Regions from separate parts of the Homo sapiens genome. Here regions 1, 2, 3, 4, 6 and 7 are each linked to region 5. The links are contacts of gene promoters, found by promoter capture Hi-C in blood cells and fetal thymus (Javierre and others, 2016). All regions are on one chromosome and are shown on one strand. The core of a region is centred on a gene start or on the middle of the fragment in contact, and the rest is flanking DNA. Distances in the headings are between cores, read along the strand shown. Region 1 overlaps SNX11 (sorting nexin 11). Region 2 overlaps CDC27 (cell division cycle 27). Region 3 has its middle 7.1 kb from the start of CDC27. Region 4 overlaps ITGB3 (integrin subunit beta 3). Region 5 holds the start of KPNB1 (karyopherin subunit beta 1). Region 6 overlaps CDC27 (cell division cycle 27). Region 7 has its middle 17 kb from the start of ITGB3.

Region 1 (2,700 bases), core at 172-2,671, 460 kb before region 5:
GCTCAATGCCAAGCTAAAAGGCCCTGGGGGATTTGCCTCCCTTCTCAGACCAGGCCCTCAACTAGGCCACCTCTCCCCAAAGCGTGTTGGAGTCTACAGAAAGTTTGTCACACGCAGCCAGAACAGGCGGGTCCAGATGTAAAACTTTTGCCTTGAAGAATGCAGGCACAACAGGGTCTGGTGAGCACTCACATCACAGCATTTTTTTTTTTTTTTTGAGGCAGAGTTTCACTCTTGTTGCCCAGGCTGGAGTGCAATGGCACAATCTCGGCTCACCACAACCTCTGCCTCCTGGGTTCAAGCAATTCTCCTGCCTCAGTCTCCCGAGTAGCTGGGATTACAGGCACGTGCCACCACACCCAGCTAATTTTGTATTTTTAGTAGAGACGGGGTTTCTCCATGTTGGTCAGGCTGGTCTCGAACTCCTGACCTCAAGTGATCCGCCCTCCTCGGCCTCCCAAAGTGCTGGGATTACAGGCGGGAGCCACCACGCCCTGCCAGATCACAGCTTTGAAAGCGAGCCTAACAGCACCCCCTCCCGGCTGTTTAGAGACAACCAAGTCCCCACAAACACCAATGCTTCTGCATTTCTCCCAGTCTCACTAACAACCAGTCAACTCCCCACAGGTGAATCATAGAGCTAGAGCACTCCAAGGAGCACCTGAGTGGGTTGCCCAGTTGGGACCTTCCCCTTATCCAATCCATACTCTGGAACCCGAGCCAATTGTTCTAATTACTTCCTCTCCTGACATGCCATCCGGTTTGTACTTCTGTCCAAGCACCCCACAGCTGCACAGGTCGACTCAGGATGCGTTCTGCTCCTTTGTAAAGATTCATTAAAGCCTCAGCCCCTGATTTTCCCCAATGTGGCAGTTCACGTGTATAGCGACATCACCCACTCCGACAAGGGGACCATGAAGGCTGCAGCACGGGGTTACTCAAGTCCAATGGGGCCCATGATGTCACCTTCTGTTAAAATACAGCACTAATCTTGTTACTTCTACAACTATTCCAACAGCATCCACCCTGGCTGCCGCCTGCACCCCCTTCTCTCTTAAGAGAGAAACAATAAGGTTTAATTTCCCTTTCCAATTTACCTTGAAATGAAAACTGACTTCAGCCAATATGTACTGCCAACAAATGATCCAGGCTGGCTCCTGGGAAAACAAGACTATCTCTAATATCTCTAAGCCCTCCCTCTCCTCCCCCATCCCGTACTCATTCACATACCCACTCATTTTTACAGTCCCACAATTAATTTTAAACACATTCTCTTATTAGTTCTGCCTTACCATTAGAACACTGTGTAATGAGTTTCCTTCTATTTTATGTTTTGCTAACACAAGGCTAACATTTCAAAAGAAGGGGAACTCATTTACACCATGAAATTAGCAAAGCAAACCACTTTTTCAATTCTCTCCAATATACCAGAAGTATCTCCACAGACAAACACTGCATGCAGAAACGAAGCTGCATGGTCCATGACAAAATTGGGCTACACAATATTGAGCAAACCTAAGGTTTTGTGATTTCAGTACCATCTTAAATGGTATTCTTGCTGACAATCTGATTTTTATCTGATGCAGCCACCACCTCCAAGGGGTCCTGAACTGAAAGGTGGGAAATTCCAATTCCATAACAACCCATATATAACATTCCAGATATCAGTCAAATGTCTGAGACCAAAAAGAGCAGACCTATTTGCTGTGAACAATGAACCTCCTTAAGTTTTTTTTTTCTCTTCTCTTTGCAGGCATTGGATAAACTGCCAGCACAGGAGCAGAGAGTTAAATATTCTGAAGTGTCTTTAAACAAAACTAACAACGGGAAAGACGATGACAAGGAAATCACAGTCATCCACTCAGTGGAGCTCATACATCTTTTGTGCCTTGAAAAAGGTTTGTCAAATTCAGGACCATAATTTAGGAACGAAATGATCATCATACCCTTGGTCTCAGGAAGTTTGTATAGGGCCCTGCACTACCTTCATGAAGAAATTCTTCTTTCCTTTGGGGCCAATACCACTCAGAAACAAATAGCTATGAACTGGCTTTTTAAAAACCTCCAGACACCAGCCTGGCCAACGTAATGAAACTCCGTCTCTACTAAAAATAAAAAAAATTAGCGGGCGTGGTGGCAGGCGCCTGTAATCCCACCTACTTGGGAGACTGAAGCAGGAGAATCACTTGAACCCGGGAGGCGGAGGTTGCAGTGAGCCGAGATCGCGCCACTGCACTCCAGCCCAGGCGACAGTGCAAGACTCCGTTGTCAAAAAAAAAAACACAAAAAACAAAAAACCTCCAGATGGGCCGGGTGCGGTGGCTCACGTCTGTAATCCCAGCACTTTGGGAGGCCGAGGCGGGCGAAATACGAGGTCAAGAGATTGAGACCATCCTGGCCAACATGGTGAAACCCCTTCTTTACTAAAAATACAAAAATTAGCTGGGCATGGTGGCGCGTGCCTGTAGTCCCAGCTACTCGGGAGACTGAGGCAGGAGAATCAGTTGAACCCAGGAGGTGGAGGTTGCAGTGAGCCGAGATCGCACCACTGCACTCCATCCTGGCAACAGAGTGAGACTCCGTCTCAAAAAAAAAAAAAGAAAGTTTCAGTTGTAACTGTCCTTAAAAACACTGGGCTGGCCCAGTGGCTCACGCCTGTAATCCAACACTTTGGGAAGCTGAGGCGGGCAGAACACTTGA
Region 2 (2,700 bases), core at 114-2,613, 470 kb after region 5:
ACTGTCTTCTATTTCTAGTATTTCCTTTTTGTTTTTGTTTATTATTAAAGAATAGGCAGTTTCTAGTTTATTATAGTTAGGCTCTTAAAAATTGTAAATTCATGGTTTAGAATTCAATTAGATTTTCCCATAGAATTGGTGGCAAGATTCCCAGATTAGTCCACATAAAGCTGTTTAATCCACGTTATTTATGTACCTGATACAATGCTTGGCACTTGGAAAGTTGCTCAGTAAATGTTAGTTTCTTTCAATATAGAACCTCACCATTCGGTTTAACCATATTTATATGAGGAAAGATTTTAGAATTAAGTGTAGTAAGAGCAGATACTATCCTGGCTCAGTAATAATAACAATAATTCTATCACTTATTGATTTCTTACTGTATACTAGGTACTCTAAGTATTTAATATTAGTTACTAATTTAATCTTCAATAATCCTATCAAATAGACATTGCTATTGCCATTTTCTGGATGAAGAACTGAGACTAATGTCCACAGGCGGTAACTAGTAATCTGTCTGATTCCGCTTTCCCAAGAGTAGCAATTACCACTTCTCTGATTTGCAACCATAGTAGGCATCACTAATCCATTACAGTACTCATTCCCACTGAACCAACCTCAGAATTCTTGGCAACAGTTTTCTTGGTGGACAATATCAGTTGATATGCTAGATGTAACCTGTTTGCTCAGGGGCCTCCTATGTCACTAGTAGCAGTTTCTATATTTGGAGAAAGACATCCAACAAGGCATGAGGCTAAAGCAGTTGATCAGTAGGATCTTCTGTAAGTCAAATTCTTGAAATAATTTCTCAGTTTCACTAGTTCTTTGTCGCCCATTTGTCTTTCTCTCGAGATTTATAGTCGGCCTGAGACTGTGGGATCAGAAAGAAGGAACAGCAGAATGATATAAGAGAGAATCTGGGAGGCTGAGGTGGGCAGATCACCTGAGGTTGGGAATTTGAGACCAGCCTGACCAACATGGAGAAACCCCATCTCTACTAAAAAATACAAAATTAGCCGGTGTAGTGGCACATGCCTGTAATCCCAGCCACCCAGGAGGCTGAGGCAGGAGAATTGCTTGAACCCGGGAGGCGGAGGTTGCGGTGAGCCGAGATTACACCACTGCACTCCAGCCTGGGCAACAGAGCGAGACTCCGTCTCAAAAAAAAAACGGAAAAAGGAAAGAGAATCTGAATTCAGATACTCATTTGCCATTTGATCTTAAGCCAAAAGTCATTCTGAGCCTTATTTTCCTTATCTTTAAAATAGAAGAGAAATATCTGTTTAACAAGATAGTTTTAAGGACTAAATACAGTAAAATATGTAAAGAGTCTGCTGTAGTTTCTGGCACATAGAAAGTCCTTTACAGGTTCCCTCTCCCCTAACATATCCTAATACAGTGACTTTTCAGGGTTTTTTTTTTTTTTTCTTATTTTTATTTATTTATTTATTTTTGAGATAGCCTGTCACCCAGGTTGGAGTGCAGTCATGTGATCTTTTCTCACTTCAGCCTTGACCTCCCAGGCCCAAACAATCCTCCCACCTCAACCTCCCTACTAGATGAGACTACAGGCACATGCTACCATGCCCAGCTAATTTTTGTATTTTTGAGAACACGAGATCTCACAATGTTGCCCAGGCCAGTCTTAAACTCCTGGTCTCAAGCAGTCCTCCCACCTCCGTCTCCCAAAGTGCTGGGATTACAGACGTGAGCCACTGTGGCCTGGCCAGATTTTTTTTACCCTTATTAGATATGATACACTCTAATATTTTCCATTGAGTGGTTTTGTTGTTGTTGTTTTAACGTAGGCTGATAACCACTAAATTGACATCACAGTCCACTAGTGAGTTGAGATTTGCTGTTTTGGAAAAACTGTCCTAATTTTACCATCTCCCTCCAATAAATTCCCTTCCCCCATTGTAAGCATGTATTTTTCTTTCCCACCACCAATACCTGATCCCCTTGACCAAGGTTTTTCTCTTTTGTTAATTAACTGTTAAGAATGAATAGAAATAAGTGCTATACAACAAATAGAAATAGTGTTAGACTATGAGGAAAAAAATACATTAATGCAACTACTATGATAGCTCTTTGGAGATATGTGTGTGTGTGTGTGTGTGTGTACACACACATATAAAATAAGAGTTATGTTCAGAAAATCAACCAGACATAAGTTTTGTGTGCATTTTTTTCATAAGTAATTGCTACCTATGGAACTCTATGAGACTAAGAGGATTGTAACTAGTGAAAGGAAAAGAAAGAGAAACAGCTGAAAACCTTGTGTCAACATGTATTCCTAGGTTATTTTGAGGGTCCTAGCCCAGAGTTCAAAATTGCTTAAGGTCTACTGTTTTATCTTAAATTAATGTGGGTTTTACATCCCACACTGCAAAATGTTTTTGTTTGTTTGTTTCAGATAGGGTCTCCCTCTGTCACCCAGGCTGCAGTGCAGTGGCCCAATCTCGGCTGACTGCCTCCCAGGTTCAGGCAATTCTCCTGCATCAGCCTCCTGAGTAGCTGGGATTATAAGCGCCTGCGGCCACGCCCACCTAATTTTTGTATTTTTAGTAGAGATGGAGTTTCACCATGTTGGCTAAGCTGGACTCAAACTCCTAGCCTCAAGTGATCTGTCCACCTCGGCCTCCCAAAGTGCTGGGAATACAGGCGGGAGCCACTGTATCCGGTCTTTATTTTTTAATA
Region 3 (2,700 bases), core at 163-2,662, 450 kb after region 5:
GCCTACCTTAAACGTGCTTAGAACACTCACCTTAGCCTACAGTTGGGCAAAGCTATCTAACACAAATCCTATTTTATAATGAAGTGCTGAATCTCATGTATTGAATACTGTACTGAAAGTGAGACACAGAATGGTTGTATAGGTATCTGAAGTACAGTTTCTACTGACTGCACATTGCTTCTACACCATCATAAAGTCAAAAAATCATAACTTGGGGGCTGTCTGTAGTTTATTTCCCTGTGCTTTTGAGTCAGCCCTAGGCGCCCTAGTCATACGCCATTTAGCACATCTCGGAGCTCATCTCAATCAAGATGCATTTTCTGAATAGTCTCAATACTTCAGATACTGCCTTGACTTTAAATCCCTTAAGGATTTGGCCGGGTGCGGTGGCTCATGCCTGTAATCTCAGCACTTTGGGAGGCCAAGGCTGGCAGATCACGAAGTCAGGAGATCGAGACCATCCTGGCTAACACGGTGAAACCCTATCTCTACTCAAAATACAAAAAATTAGCCAGGCGTGGTGGCGGGCGCCTATAGTCCCAGCTACTCGGGAGGCTGAAGCAGGAGAATGACATGAACCCGGGAGGTGGAGCTTGCAGTGAGCCGAGATAGCGCCACTGCACTCCAGCCTGGGCGACAGTGCGAGACTCTGTCTCAAAAAAAAAAAAAAAAAAAAAAAACCCTTTAAGGATTTATGTGCAAGACCAGCATGTTCTCTGGGCCCAGAAAGGGGGAGTCAAAAAAAAAGCATCATGTTTAGATCAGTGAGATGAAATTAAGTCATCAAGTCATTCAATCATCAGATATTTCAAAAATATTTATATATTTACAATATTTTAACGAAACAAGAGCGAAATATTATAATATTTTAGCAAAACAACAACAACAAAAAATATTTATATATTTTATAATATTTGTGCAGGGCACTGAACTAGGTGATGGGGACATAATGTTCAAACCAAGGTCCCTGCCTTCAATGCAGCTTATATTAAACAAATACGATTAAAATTACCATACATACTATGAAAGAAAAGAACAAAAATGGCATGAGAGAGAATAACAGGCTGGAGCTAAGAATTTAAATTAGGTAGGTCTAGGAATATTCTGAGGATGTGATACTGAAGCTGAGGCTTGAAGAATAAATAGAATTTCACTGGTCAAAGAGTAAGGGAAATGTATTTCAGGAAGAAAGAATAATATGTAGAAAGACTTCCACTTTAATCACTCAGTCAATATATTTCTTAAGAATTTTCTACATATGTGGTGTTTTTCAAAGAACAATATACAGAAATATAAGACTTGGCCCTTGCATTAGGGAGACAAGACATAAACAGAATAATCAATTATATAAGTCTACCTGGGCTTGCCATAACAACATACCACACACCGGGTGGCTTGAACATTAGAGATTTATTTTCTCATGGTTCTGGAGGCTAGAGGTCCATGATCAAAGTGCTGGCAAAACAGATTCTGGTGAGGGCTCTCTTCCTAGATGTTGGCCTTTTCCCTGTGTCCTCCTATGACCCTTCTTTGGTGAATGCCCACAGAGAGATCAAACTTTCCTGTGCATCTTTTTATAAGGACACTAATTCTGTCGGATCAGGGCCCCATCTTTATGATATCATTTAACTTTAATCACTTTCTTAGAGACCCCATGTCCAAATACAGCCACACTAGGGGTTAGCTTCAACATATGAATTTTGAGGAGATGCAACCAGTCTATAACATCAATCAACAAACAAAAATAATACTAGGAACACAGTGAGTTTATTCTATTCATTCATTAAACAAATAATACTAAGTTCCCATTAGATGCCAGATACTGTACTAAGTGTTGAGAATACACAGGGAACAAGGCAGACAGGGCTTCTGCCCTCATGGAGCTTATAGACTAGACCAGAAGTAGACAATTAAACAGATAATTAATTACAGCAAAGAGTGATGGGAGTAATGACAAGTCTGGTAGCACTAGAGTAACAGCAGGGAGAGCCAAGCTATCCCAGAGGAGCAGAAAAGGCCTGGAAGAAGTATATTTGGAGGATAAGCAGAGCTAGCCAGATGAAGAATAGAATTAAGATGAAGAGTGGAATTAAGAGGGTTCTGGGGAGAGTGCAGTACATGCAAAGCCTGTGAGGCAAGAGAGTGGGTGATTTTGGGAGGCCATGGCAGGCGGATCACCTGAGATCAGGAGTTGGAGACCAGCCTGGCCAACATGGTAAAACCCAGTCTCTACTAAAAATACTTGGCTGGGCACGGTGGCTCACACCTGTAATTCCAACACTTTGGGAGGCCAAGGCGGGCAGATCACCTGAAGTCGGGAGTTCGAGGCCAGCCTGACCAACATGGAGACACCCCGTCTCTACTAAAAATACAAAATTAGCTGGGCATGGTGGTCTATGCCTGTAATCCCAGCTACTTGGGAGGCTGAGGCAGGAGAATCGCTTGAACCTGGGAGGCAGAGGTTGCGGTGAGCCAAGATCATGCCATTGCACTCCAGCCTGGGCAACAAGAGCAAAACCCCGTCTCAAAAAAAAAAAAAAAAATTAGCCCACTGTGGTGGCATGCACCTGTAATCCCAGCTACTTACTTAGGAGCCTGAGGCAGGAGAATTGCTTGAACCCGGGAGGCAGAGTTTGCAGTGAGCCAAGAGTGCACCATTGCACTCCAGCCTGGGTGACAACAGTGAGACTCTGTCTCAAA
Region 4 (2,700 bases), core at 125-2,624, 390 kb after region 5:
CCAGCTCATGTGTTATGGGTGTGGACAGCAGGCCGCGGTGCTAACACCAGTCCTTACTGCCAGCCTGTCTTGGTAGGAAAGCAAACTGGTTCAACCGTTTGGGAGGACAAATTGACAACACCTACTAAAATTTAAATTTAAAATACGCATGCCCTTCGACCCACCAACTTTCATTCAAGAAATTAAGTCTGTAGAAACACTTGAACAAAGGTGCATAATAAATGAATAAGGATATCCCCTGCAGCTTTATTTGTAGTAGCAAATAATTGGGAATGATCCCAATGTCTGCCAACAGGGAATTGGTTAAGTAAATTCTGATATATCCATATAACAAAGAGTATGCCTTATGGCTAGAATTATAGCTCTTGGGATAAATAATGGAAAGCCATAAACTGACATAAAAAGATGCCTAGAGTATATTATTAAGAGACAATGGGCCAGGTGCGGTGGCTTATGCGTGTAATCCCAGCACTTTGGGAGGCCGAGGCGGGTGGATCACCTGTGGTTAGGAGTTCAAAACCAGCCTGGCCAACATGGCCAAACCCTGTCTCTATCAAAAACACAAAAATTAGCTGGGCGTGGTGGCAAATGCCTGTGATCCCAGCTACTCGGGAATCTGAGGCAGGAGAATTGCTTGAACCCAGGAGGCGGAGGTTGCAGTGAGCTGGGATCACACAACTGCACTCCAGCCTGGGCGACAGAGTGAGACTCCATCTCAAAAAAAAAAAAAAAAAAGACAATGATCCTATTATTGATTATCCTATTTGAGAAATAACAATAATGATAAATAATTATATATGTTGACAAATACATAGAAAAAAACTCTGCAGTAACTATCAACAGTGGTTATCTTTAAGGACAAGACTACAAGGAACTGGTACTGGTACTTTCTGCATTATATTTCTGAGCTGCCTTTTTTTAAATAATAAGCTTAATTACTTTTATAAGCTAAAAGAAAATTAAAGCTAATTTGAAATGTCCTCTGTTCTGCCTCCCTGTCGACATTTGCATTTATTTAAATGTAGGCTCCCCAGAGTCTGCTGGGCTTTCCACAAACTGCACCTTCAGCATCAAAACCTCTTGGAATGGCAAACTCAGCAGGAACACAGAAATGAGCTTTGGGGTATGGTTTGCATGAGGAGATGCTGGTCAAGGGATATAAATTTTCAGTTAGACAAGAGGAATAAGTTCAAGAGATCCACTGTACAACATGGTGACTATAGTTAATAACCGTATGTCATCTACCTGAAAATTGCTGGGAGGAGATTTTTAAGTGTTCTCACCACAAATAAATCAGAAGTATGTATGTGAGGTAATGCATATGTTATTTAACTTCATTTAACCATTCCACAATGCGCACATATTTCAAGACATCATGTTGTACATCATAAATATACATAATTTTTATTTGTCAATTTCAAACAATAATAATAATAAAAGAGAATGGAAAAAAAAAAAGGAATAAACTTTGTCAGGCCCACTCTCACAGCCTTCAAGAACTGCCCAGGGCAGCATGGTCTGTTCTCAACTTGTGGAAGTCCCAGAAAGGAAACACCACCCTCCCCTCCACTGGGGATTGGTCAAACATGCTCCTTGCAGGCGGCTCCAGCAAAGGCTCAACCTGGAGTTCAACACGTGCGATGGCTAAAGTTGGGGTCTGGAGCCATCAGTGGATCTCACAGACCCAGGTTTCTCTATCCAAAATTTCCATTAGCAAAGAGATGTAGGGTTGACTACAGGGACTTTTTAAGTGGCTACTGAATATGTCTTTTGCCAAACTTCTGGAGCTCTCTTCTAGTGCAAAGTTTTTCAAGCTTGATTTTAACAGCAGGATCTTCTTTTTTTCCCAAAGAAATCCTTACATGAACTCCAAATTGTTAATTAGTTAAAGGAGTTCCAGTTGAAGGTGGTGGGGAAGGGGCAGGAGCAAATTGAAGTATTTCCCTTCATCTTCTCTGTCCCACTTTGCAGCCCCTGGGACACCAAGAGACTGATGCCTAAAGGTAAAGTCACTTGTTCAAAGTCACCCAGCAAGCTGATGAAAAAGCCTGCAGAACTGTGAATCGAATGTAGGTTTCTTAATTCCAGATACGTTGTTCTTTCCACACTGAGCTTTTTTCTATATAAAAGGAAGTACTATATATCATGGGTTTAAGTAAAGGAATACACACACACACACAAATAAACATAAATGCGAGGGGAAATGTCTAAACAGAACACACCACCTGATTAATATGAACATTATAGGGGAATAGAATTAGAAGGGAACCAGCAATTTTAACGACTGACAATGATCCTATGTGGATGAACCTATTTGAGAAATAACAATATTTGTTTTGTTTTGTTCTGTTTTTTGAGACAGAGTTTTGCTCTTGTTGCTCAGGCTGGAGTGCAATGGCACAATCTCGGCTCACTGCAACCTCTGCCTCCTGGGTTCAAGCGATTCTCCTGCCTCAGCCTCCCGAGTAGCTGGGATTACAGACGCATGCCACCATGCCCAGCTGATTTTGTATTTTTAGTAGAGACAGGGTTTCTCCATGTTGGTCAGGCTGGTCTTGAACTCCTGACCTCAGGTGATCCGCCCGCCTCGGCCTCCCAAAGTGCTGGGATTACAGGCATGAGCCACCGCGCCCAGCCAAGAAATAACAATATTTGTTATTTTGACTTTTTTAAAATGTGTATCACCTTGTTCTTTTTCTT
Region 5 (2,700 bases), core at 166-2,665:
CCCATCCCCCAACAGGAGATGGACACCAAAGAGAAACTTAACTGGCATCTAGGCTGTTTCAACCAATCCATCCCACATTTTTATACAAAGGACCAGTCTCTAGCGGACTTAGCTTCATTTTCTCCGGACCCCTTAAATTTTAAAATATGAAAAACGAGGAACTTTCCCCTGTGATTTCATCAGCAAACAGGCCCCATCTCAAAGATGAGCCTCAGTCTGTTTTCTGGGTGCAGATCCCTAGTGATTAGGTCTCTATTCATCCAGGTCAGAAGAAAAAAAAAAAAGAAAGAAAGAAAAAGAAAAAACCCCAAGAGAGGAATAACCGAGCAAAGAGGGAAAAATATCAGTGGAAATGGGTTAAGAGGCAGTCGGGTGCCAGGCCTGGCCATGAGTACAGACCAAGGTAGCTAGGAAAGGGCAGAGCTCTAGGAAATAGGTGGGGAGAGCCACAGGGGCCACGGGATAGGAAGGAGAAGCCGGCCGGGGTCAGACAGGGCGGGCGGCCGGGCCCGGAGCTTCCACATGGCCCCTAGGCCCGACTCCCCCGCCCCCACCCCTGCTGAACACGCAGCGCCGCGCAACCTAACTTCCCTTCCCTCCCTCTTTCTCCCTCCCGCTGCACCGCCGCCCTCAGGCCGCGCAACGATTGGGCGGCAGGCAGCTCGGCGCGCCAAGCCATTGGCCAGTCGCGAGGCCCGGGGCGGGACACACCCACCGGCTTCCCGATGGCGGGGTTAGGTTGGACCGGGTTGGGGGGGGAGGGGGAGGGGGGAGGGGGACGGGATGGGGCGGGGTAGGTTCCCGAGGCCTGGGCCTCCGGGAGGGCGGGAAGGCCCCGCACGCAGGGGATGGGGACGCGGCGGGATGGGCGCGGCGGGGTAGCACGCACCAGGTTCTCCACGGCCGCACGCTCCAGGAACTTCTGCGCCGCTTCCAGCTCCAGCCGATCTAGGGGGAGGAAAGTGGGAGACGGAGCGGGGTCAGAGGGGCCGGGCCTCCCCTCCCCCACCCCAATCACCTCAGCCCTACCCCCGGCTCCTGCGTCCTACCGGGAGACACGGTCTTCTCGAGAATGGTGATCAGCTCCATGGCGGAGGTGGCGGCGGCGGCGACTCCTCCTAAGACGACGGCCCGGCCTTTCGGGCGGCGGCTCGAACTGGGGATGGGGGTTGGGGGTCGGGTGGGAAGGGAGGGTGGGGTGGGGGGCGGGGGTCACCACAAACCCATTCACCGGCTCTGTCTGGGTAGTCGGTCCGGCTCCCCTTCCTCTCCTCTTCCCTTACTTCCTCCCTCCAAATGGGCTGCTGGCGGCGGGGGAGGGACCCTGGGGGCAGCTCAGAGCGCGCTGGTGCTCGGGAGGCGGAGGGAGAAAGAAGGAAGGGAGGCTGTGAGTGAGAGGCGGCGCGCAGGGAGGGAGCGAGGGAGGGAGGAAGGCGGAGGGATATTCGGACCGGACCTCTCCGCGGAGGCGCCGCGCTCCACGACGATTGGCCGTTGTCCTGGCCACGCGGAATCCCTAACTGGCCAGGCGCTCAGCGTCGAAGGGCCGTCTCGCGCCCATTCGCCTGCTGGTTTCAAGGCCCGGGTTGGCTGGGCGGGCAGCGGAATGGAGCGCGCGGATTGGCCGAGGGGAGGGAGATTGGGATGGGGTAGGAGAGAGCCCGCCGTTGATTGGGTGGGCTTGGTAAAGGCCTTGAGCTCAGACCGGCTGAGCGCTGGGAGGAGGGTGGACCGGAGGCACGACTCGGATCCTGCGCGATTGGCTGGGATAGTAGGCGTTGATAGGATAGGGTGCCCGGGAGAACTAAGGAGAGGAGTTCGGGGTCGGGGCGCGGGAAGGCGGGAGGTGCCCGGCAACCCTAGGAGCCCGGCGCGGGGCACGATGGGACGCCCCCGGGAAGAGGCGGAGCTGGGTTCGAGCGCTGGGGCTGCGGTTGGGTAAGCGCCGTCGCTCCGAGGGGCGTGTTGCGCGAGGTTTTCGCGGGCCTGAGCGGGGGAGGGGGGACTGTTGAAGTCCTGCGCCGCGCCCACAGGAAGCTGCTTTAATGGCTAGGTCGGCTTGGTACCCTGCTTTCGGCTGGGAGGGATCCGTAAGGCCATGTGGCTCCACTGCCAATGTGTAGATGTGGAAACTGAAGCCCAGAGAGGGTATGGAACTTGTCCAAGGTCACACAGCTGGTTAATGGCTTGGTAAGGAATGGGTTCAGGAGCCCAGAGAGGGTCTGGAACTTGTCCAAGGTCACACAGCTGGTTAGTGGCTTGATAAGCTCAAGCTCTCCTGACGGCCCTTGTCCCTACAAGCAGCTTCCTCTCCAAGGAGTCCCCTAAGCCTGCTTATATGGGGCTTGAGACCTGTGCTGTGATAAATCTGACTTGCTTAGGGGTGAGCTAAGGGATTCCTCCTCTTAGACCCCCCATCCATAGCTACCAGGTACTTGACAGGATGGAAATGTTTCACCCTCCAAAAGTACCCTGTAAAGGCCCAACCTCGAACCAGAAAGAATGTGTGTACAGGAATAAAGGATTGTGGTTCTTAACCTGTTTCAGTTCTCAACCCCGGAAGAAACTCATGAATGCCTTTTCTTAGCAAAATGCATATAAAGAAAACGTGGGCCGGGCGCTGTGGCTCGCGCCTGTAATCCCAGCACTTTGGGAGGCCGAGGGGGGCGGATGACGAGTCAAGAGATCGAGACCATCCTG
Region 6 (2,700 bases), core at 190-2,689, 490 kb after region 5:
CCAATCCTGGCTTTTCATTTTAGCCATTATATACCAGAATTGCACCTAGTAATCTAGATACATACATGTGGTTTTGTAGCTAAGGTGTGTTAGGTTTTCTTTTCTATCTCCAGTATAGACTTTTTTTTGTCTTTTTGTCTATTACAGCACATGAGACTTCTATGTTTAGGACACAACTGATACTAAGTCTGATTCCTAAATTATCCTATTTCTTCCCAATACCACTTAAATAATATTTTTTATGCCAGTTCTTTAGGAAACTTCTGGCTGGGTTTTGTGTGTATCACTCAATTTTAATAAAAACTTCGATCTAAATTTAGAGTACCCCAGCACTTTACTTTTCTTAAATCTTTGTCCCCTTTTATCTCTCTATTGAATAATTAGAGGTTTTATCTTCCAGGCTAGATTATTATAATTCCACACCTGACTTCTTCCCTAGTTAGCTCTTATGTGATTTATACATATATCTATCCATATGTGTATCTAATCTCTTAACAGACATGAATTTTGATTTAAATTTCTTCTGTTTTGTGGTCTATTCATGAAATAATTACTCATTATAAAAATCAGCCTTGCCAACTTAACCAAGTTTGATTTTTTCTTTTCCTAATATAAAAATAATACAATTTTAATTTAAGTAATACTGGAAATGAGACTTTTCAGCACAAAGGATCACCCCTCTTACTTTTCCAGAATATTTTTCCCGTAACAGATTATTTTGTCTTTGCTTAATCAATGTTTGTCTACTTCCTTTCTGGCCATGTAAATAATTCATACAGTTCACTAATGCAACTTTTAAAATTATTAATAAAAATGTCTGTTTTATATCACATTCTGCTGGCAAAGCAAGGGGACGGGGCTACTTGAAAACAGGAAACAGGTAGTATAAAAATGGCAAAGACTAATTCTCCATTCTCAGAGAGCTTATAATCACTTGCAAGAGAGAATGCTTGAAAAGATAAATAGGCAGACTATGGTTAGTATTATGAGACAGAAGGGGCCTAGATAGATGAATTGAAGGGATGAAGAGGCAAGACATTAATTAGGAATCTATTGATGGTTTAGATGAGAAGCAATAAGGATCCTAACAGTGAAAATAAAGAGGGAACTTAAGCCAGAAATAAAATGAAAGTACATGAATTATGGCTTCGTTGCTGATTGGCTGTGAAGGTCAGAGGAGAAGAAGAAGGAGTCAGTGCTATCTCTAAGTAGGATTTTTGAGTCTGTAAACTTGTAAAAATAGTGGTGTCCTTAAAACACACACAGAAAGAAAGAGAAAGAACAGATTTTGGGGAGAAAAGATGAACTTGACTTTGAATTTACTAAGCTTTAGATAAGGAAGTAAAACCTAGATGAAATTGCCCATCAGGCAAAGGAAAGGTAAGGTTGAAGTTAGAAGTAGATTTAGTTGTCATCTCTGTAGAAGGGATTCTCACCAGACAGAGATTTTCTAAAGAAGGGACTGAGGCCTGAGGGAATGGCTTTACTTAGGAACTACAAGAAGAAAAAAAAAAAAAATGAAGAAATGGTCATTGACCTATTTGAAGCTTAGGATAATCCTCAAACAATGAGATTTCACTGTATTTTGTTTTTATTTATTTATTTGAGACAGAGTCTCGCTCTGTCACCCAGGCTGGAGTGCAATGGCATGATCTCGACTCACTGTAACCTCCACCTCCAGGATGCAAGCAGTTCTCCTGCCTCAGCCTCCCAGGTAGCTGGGATTACAGGTGCCCACCACCACACCTGGCTAATTTTATGTTTTTAGTAGAGACGAGTTTTCACCGTGTTGGCCAGGCTGGTCTCGAACTCCTGACCTCAAGTGATCCACCTGCCTTGGCCTCCCAAAGTGCTGAGATTACAGGCATGAGCCACCGTGCCTGGCTGTGTATTTTCTTTTGCTTAGCCTTATGTTAAAAGCTCCCAAGCACTGATTTGCCACGTTCCACCCTATTACTTTCAGCAAATGTTTTTTTGTATGCCCTTTCTTCATTTCCTATTTCTAAATTACCACTCTATCCCTGGTGGGTGATTATGTCAGTCTTATGACAATTATATTTAAGAAATTTCAGGCCAGTTGTGGTGGCTCACACCTGTAATCCCAGGTTTGAGACCAGCCTGGGCAACATAGCAAAACACCGCTAACTTTTTTTTTTTTTTTTAATTAGCCAGCCATGGTAGCATGCACTTGTAGTCCCAGCTACTTGGGAGGCTGAGGCAGGAGAATCACTTAAGGCCAGGAGTCCAGCCTGGGCAACATAGCAGGATCCTATCCCTTTAAAAAAAAAAAAAAGAAAGAAATTTTTGATCTAAATGATCTTAGATACAGACTTTGATAAAACTTATTTATGTTTTCCAAAAGTCTGCATCCTACTTCTGCTTCCTACTTTGTCCATTTGTTTATTGGCTTAAATTACACAAGTGTGGGAAGCTAGATATCCTTCAACTGGTAGTACTTTCTTTGTCATATCACTTATTTCTAGTTTTTACTCACTTGAAAATTTGGCAGTGAGGCAAACTAATATCTGGTTCCCCAAGGGTACCTTCTTCATAGTTCTCTGAGGTTATACTGACATTCCGCACATAAACAGATGATGTATACATTTTACCTGATAGTTTCAGTTGAGGATCTCGGTTAGATTTCTTCTGGTCCTTTATATATAAAACCTTAGAATTTTGGAAGAATTGCTGTTCTGAATT
Region 7 (2,700 bases), core at 125-2,624, 410 kb after region 5:
AAGGAGGCTGAGGGGAGTGCTGAGGACAGCCCGGAGCTGGCCTGCTGACTGAACAGCCTGGGCACCATGAAGTGGACAGGAGGCAGACAGGCTCCTGGGTGGAAGAGGGAGGGTCCCCAGTGAAGCTCCACTTTCAAGGGAGTGGCAGGGTGGGGGGCAGCTGCCAGTCCAAGACCAGAGAGGGAACCTGAAGTGCTTTTCTCTGAACCCTGCCCATAGCCACCTATGGACAAATCAGCATGCACTTCCTCCCTTATGAAGCCCATAAAAACCCTGGACTCAGCCAGACTGAGCAGAGGAGGGAAAGCATGACAGCCAGGGAGGTGATGACCAGCTGCAGAGAGGAGCTGCCCTCCCCAGAGGAGCTGCCCACCCCAGGGTCTCCTGTCTGCTGAGAGCTGAGGAGATGACCAGCTGCAGAGAGGAGCTACCCTCTCTGCTGAGAGCTGAACACTTATTGGGACACCCTGGCTATGGAGAGGAGCCGCTCACTACAGGTCTCCTCTGAGCTGTTCTGTTGCTCCATAAAGCTCCTCTTCATCTTGCTCACCCTCCACTTGTCTATGTACTCATTCTTCCTGGTTGCAGGGCAATAACTTAGGACCTGCCAAATGGCAAGGCTAAAAGAGCTGTAACACAAACAGTGCTGAAACATGCCGCTTGCTTGCCCCATTGGGGGCAAAGAGGAGAGAAAATCTGTGGCCCTTTAGGAATCTCAGACCTGGGAGCTCCCCAAGCCAGGGCTGTGACTCCCTCTTTGGGGCCCTGCAGTTCCTGGCATCTCCAAGCTTCTGGGTGCCACTGCATTCCCCACTGCCAGCCAGGGAAGCTATTTGTGCACCCAGTCCAGCAGCAGCCTCACAGAGAGCTGGCACCCATGTTACCACCTGGAGCTGCCCACCCTGTGGCAGCAGCCGGCATGTCCAACTGCGCACAGTGGCTAGACCCCATGCTCACTCATGCACCCCTTACCACTCCATGTCTGACTTGCAGTCTCCCTTGAAGGCATGGGATTCAGGCCGATAATGTGAGCGGAGCATGGCCTGCCAGGCCGAGTGGGTGGAACAAGCCCAGTAGGCCTGAGCAAAACTTGGGCAAAGGCGCTGTTGGCCACAGACGTTTCCCACCAGAAAAGCAACACTCCAAAGATCCAATAACACTACCAAGTCCAAATAATCTGAGTCCCATTCACGGAAAAAAGAAATTTAGTAATAGGTATACCTGAGTTACAAATCACATGACACAAGTGACTTACTGTCTCTCCTGCTACTCCCTACCCACTCCATCTCTTCTCCCACAACCCACAAGACTCATTGCAACCAGATGCCACAAAGAAAGGACCAGGGGACAGGGTCACCAGGACACATCCCCTCATTCCACCTTCCCAACTGGAGCCGCAAGCAGCATTCCTCATTTCCTTTAATTTAAGGTCTCTTTGGCTCTTAATCCCTGGGAAGTGTCCCTAACTCACCTCTAGTCTCTGATCATTTCTGTACTCTAAATCATTTCAGTATTTCTGCCCTAATTTTGTTAAGTGTTGGTCGGATTTATTTATTTATTTATTTATTTATTTACCTGCTAGCAGGTTTGTACCAAGGCCTGAATGCTTTGCTCTACACTTCTTTGAGTATTCCTAGTGTCATGTTATTTGGTGGCCAAAATGGTACATGATGGCTGAGTAACCAAAGCTGGAGAAGAGGGGAGAAAAAGAGCTGGAAGGGATCCCAGAGCACCTTTGTCTCCTATACTGCAAAAGGAAACTGAAGCCCAGGAGGAGAAAGTGACTTGACAAGGTGAAAAGTTTGACTGGTGGTGAGGGACAACCAGGTAGTTTTTGTTTCCTACTTCACGGCATTGGGTAGAGAAAATTGGGGTGGGGCCAAGGAAAGCAAAGGGCAATAAGGCATGGCGCTAAGAACACAGGCAGCGAGCTGATGTGGGCCTGATTCCTGAAGCTTCCACCCACTCACTGAGTGCCCTGGTGAGAGTTACTTAACCTCCAGAAGCCTCAGTTTTCTCATCTGTAGAATGGGGATAACCACACCTACCTCATGAGGAATCTCTGGGAAGGGTAAATGAATAATGTACACAAAGCACTTGAAACAGCATAAGCACAGGGGAAGTATGCAGAAGAGGGAGGTGCTCTTACTATTATGAGCAGTATTTCTCTCTCCATTTGTCTTCTAGGCATTTTTTATTCTTCTTTCTTTCTTTCTTTTTTTTTTTTGGTCGGGTGCAGGATCTCACTCTGTTGCCCAGGCTGGAGTGCAGAGGCACAATCAAGTCTCACTGCACCACTGACCTTCCAGGCTCAAGTGATCCCCCCACCTCAGCCATTGGAGTAGCAGGGACCAGAGACACACACCACCACATTGGCTTTTTTTTTTTCTTCACTTTTTGTAGAGATAGGGTCTCACTGTGTTGCCCAGGCTGGTCTTGAAGTCCTGGGCTCATGTGATCCTCCCACCCTGATCTCCCAAAGTGCTGGGATATCAGATGTGAGCCACCACACCCAGCCATTTCTATTATTTTTGAGTTTTCTAAAAGAATAATGGTTCTTTCATTTTCCTTCTTTTGCTAAGGTTATTCCCATTGCTTAAGATACCCTCCTCCCCTACAGAGCTAATGTGTATTGAGTCCTTACTATATTGCAGACACTGTTTTAAGTGCTTTACACATTTTAAATTATTTGATCTTCTT

Evidence for each region. Contacts are between HindIII fragments. The CHiCAGO score rates a contact against its expected background, and 5 or more counts as called.
Region 1: a contact is called between a fragment that was not itself captured here and the fragment with the promoter of KPNB1 in region 5, in 1 of 17 cell types (neutrophils). The highest score is 5.1, in neutrophils.
Region 2: a contact is called between a fragment that was not itself captured here and the fragment with the promoter of KPNB1 in region 5, in 5 of 17 cell types (erythroblasts, megakaryocytes, fetal thymus and 2 more). The highest score is 10.9, in erythroblasts.
Region 3: a contact is called between a fragment that was not itself captured here and the fragment with the promoter of KPNB1 in region 5, in 3 of 17 cell types (erythroblasts, neutrophils and non-activated CD4 T cells). The highest score is 7.1, in erythroblasts.
Region 4: a contact is called between a fragment that was not itself captured here and the fragment with the promoter of KPNB1 in region 5, in 1 of 17 cell types (erythroblasts). The highest score is 7.0, in erythroblasts.
Region 6: a contact is called between a fragment that was not itself captured here and the fragment with the promoter of KPNB1 in region 5, in 6 of 17 cell types (erythroblasts, megakaryocytes, naive B cells and 3 more). The highest score is 19.0, in erythroblasts.
Region 7: a fragment that was not itself captured here is called in contact with the fragment with the promoter of KPNB1 in region 5 in 1 of 17 cell types (erythroblasts); the score reaches 5.4 in erythroblasts.

What each region holds. Positions count from the first base shown.
Region 1 is chr17:48,109,165-48,111,864 of GRCh38, reverse strand. All of the region lies in intron 1 of SNX11 (sorting nexin 11), which reads right to left. Among named protein-coding and RNA genes, the nearest start is that of SNX11, 2.7 kb to the right of the region's middle. RefSeq lists a silencer at 2,226-2,399. The HindIII fragment of the contact is 3,741 bases long and covers 1-2,700 here.
Region 2 is chr17:47,177,281-47,179,980 of GRCh38, reverse strand. All of the region lies in intron 2 of CDC27 (cell division cycle 27), which reads left to right. Among named protein-coding and RNA genes, the nearest start is that of CDC27, 11 kb to the left of the region's middle. The HindIII fragment of the contact is 6,719 bases long and covers 1-2,700 here.
Region 3 is chr17:47,195,073-47,197,772 of GRCh38, reverse strand. It overlaps a transcript of MYL4 not described here. Among named protein-coding and RNA genes, the nearest start is that of CDC27, 7.1 kb to the right of the region's middle. RefSeq lists a cis regulatory region at 1-3. The HindIII fragment of the contact is 3,103 bases long and covers 1-2,700 here.
Region 4 is chr17:47,259,555-47,262,254 of GRCh38, reverse strand. The region is part of intron 1 of ITGB3 (integrin subunit beta 3); the gene reads right to left. Among named protein-coding and RNA genes, the nearest start is that of ITGB3, 7.1 kb to the right of the region's middle. The HindIII fragment of the contact is 884 bases long and covers 933-1,816 here.
Region 5 is chr17:47,648,634-47,651,333 of GRCh38, reverse strand. It overlaps KPNB1 (karyopherin subunit beta 1), which reads right to left and starts at 1,415. Exons shown (of 22, transcript NM_002265.6): 1 at 1,050-1,415; 2 at 890-948. The coding sequence starts at 1,089. It overlaps KPNB1-DT (KPNB1 divergent transcript), which reads left to right and starts at 1,906. Exons shown (of 4, transcript NR_171700.1): 1 at 1,906-1,938. RefSeq lists silencers at 395-444, 745-884, 995-1,064, 1,495-1,674, 1,685-1,734 and 1 more and an enhancer at 2,415-2,700. The HindIII fragment of the contact is 6,441 bases long and covers 1-2,700 here.
Region 6 is chr17:47,160,655-47,163,354 of GRCh38, reverse strand. All of the region lies in intron 4 of CDC27 (cell division cycle 27), which reads left to right. Among named protein-coding and RNA genes, the nearest start is that of CDC27, 27 kb to the left of the region's middle. The HindIII fragment of the contact is 220 bases long and covers 1,330-1,549 here.
Region 7 is chr17:47,234,981-47,237,680 of GRCh38, reverse strand. No RefSeq gene overlaps it. Among named protein-coding and RNA genes, the nearest start is that of ITGB3, 17 kb to the left of the region's middle. RefSeq lists an enhancer at 1-381. The HindIII fragment of the contact is 1,167 bases long and covers 791-1,957 here.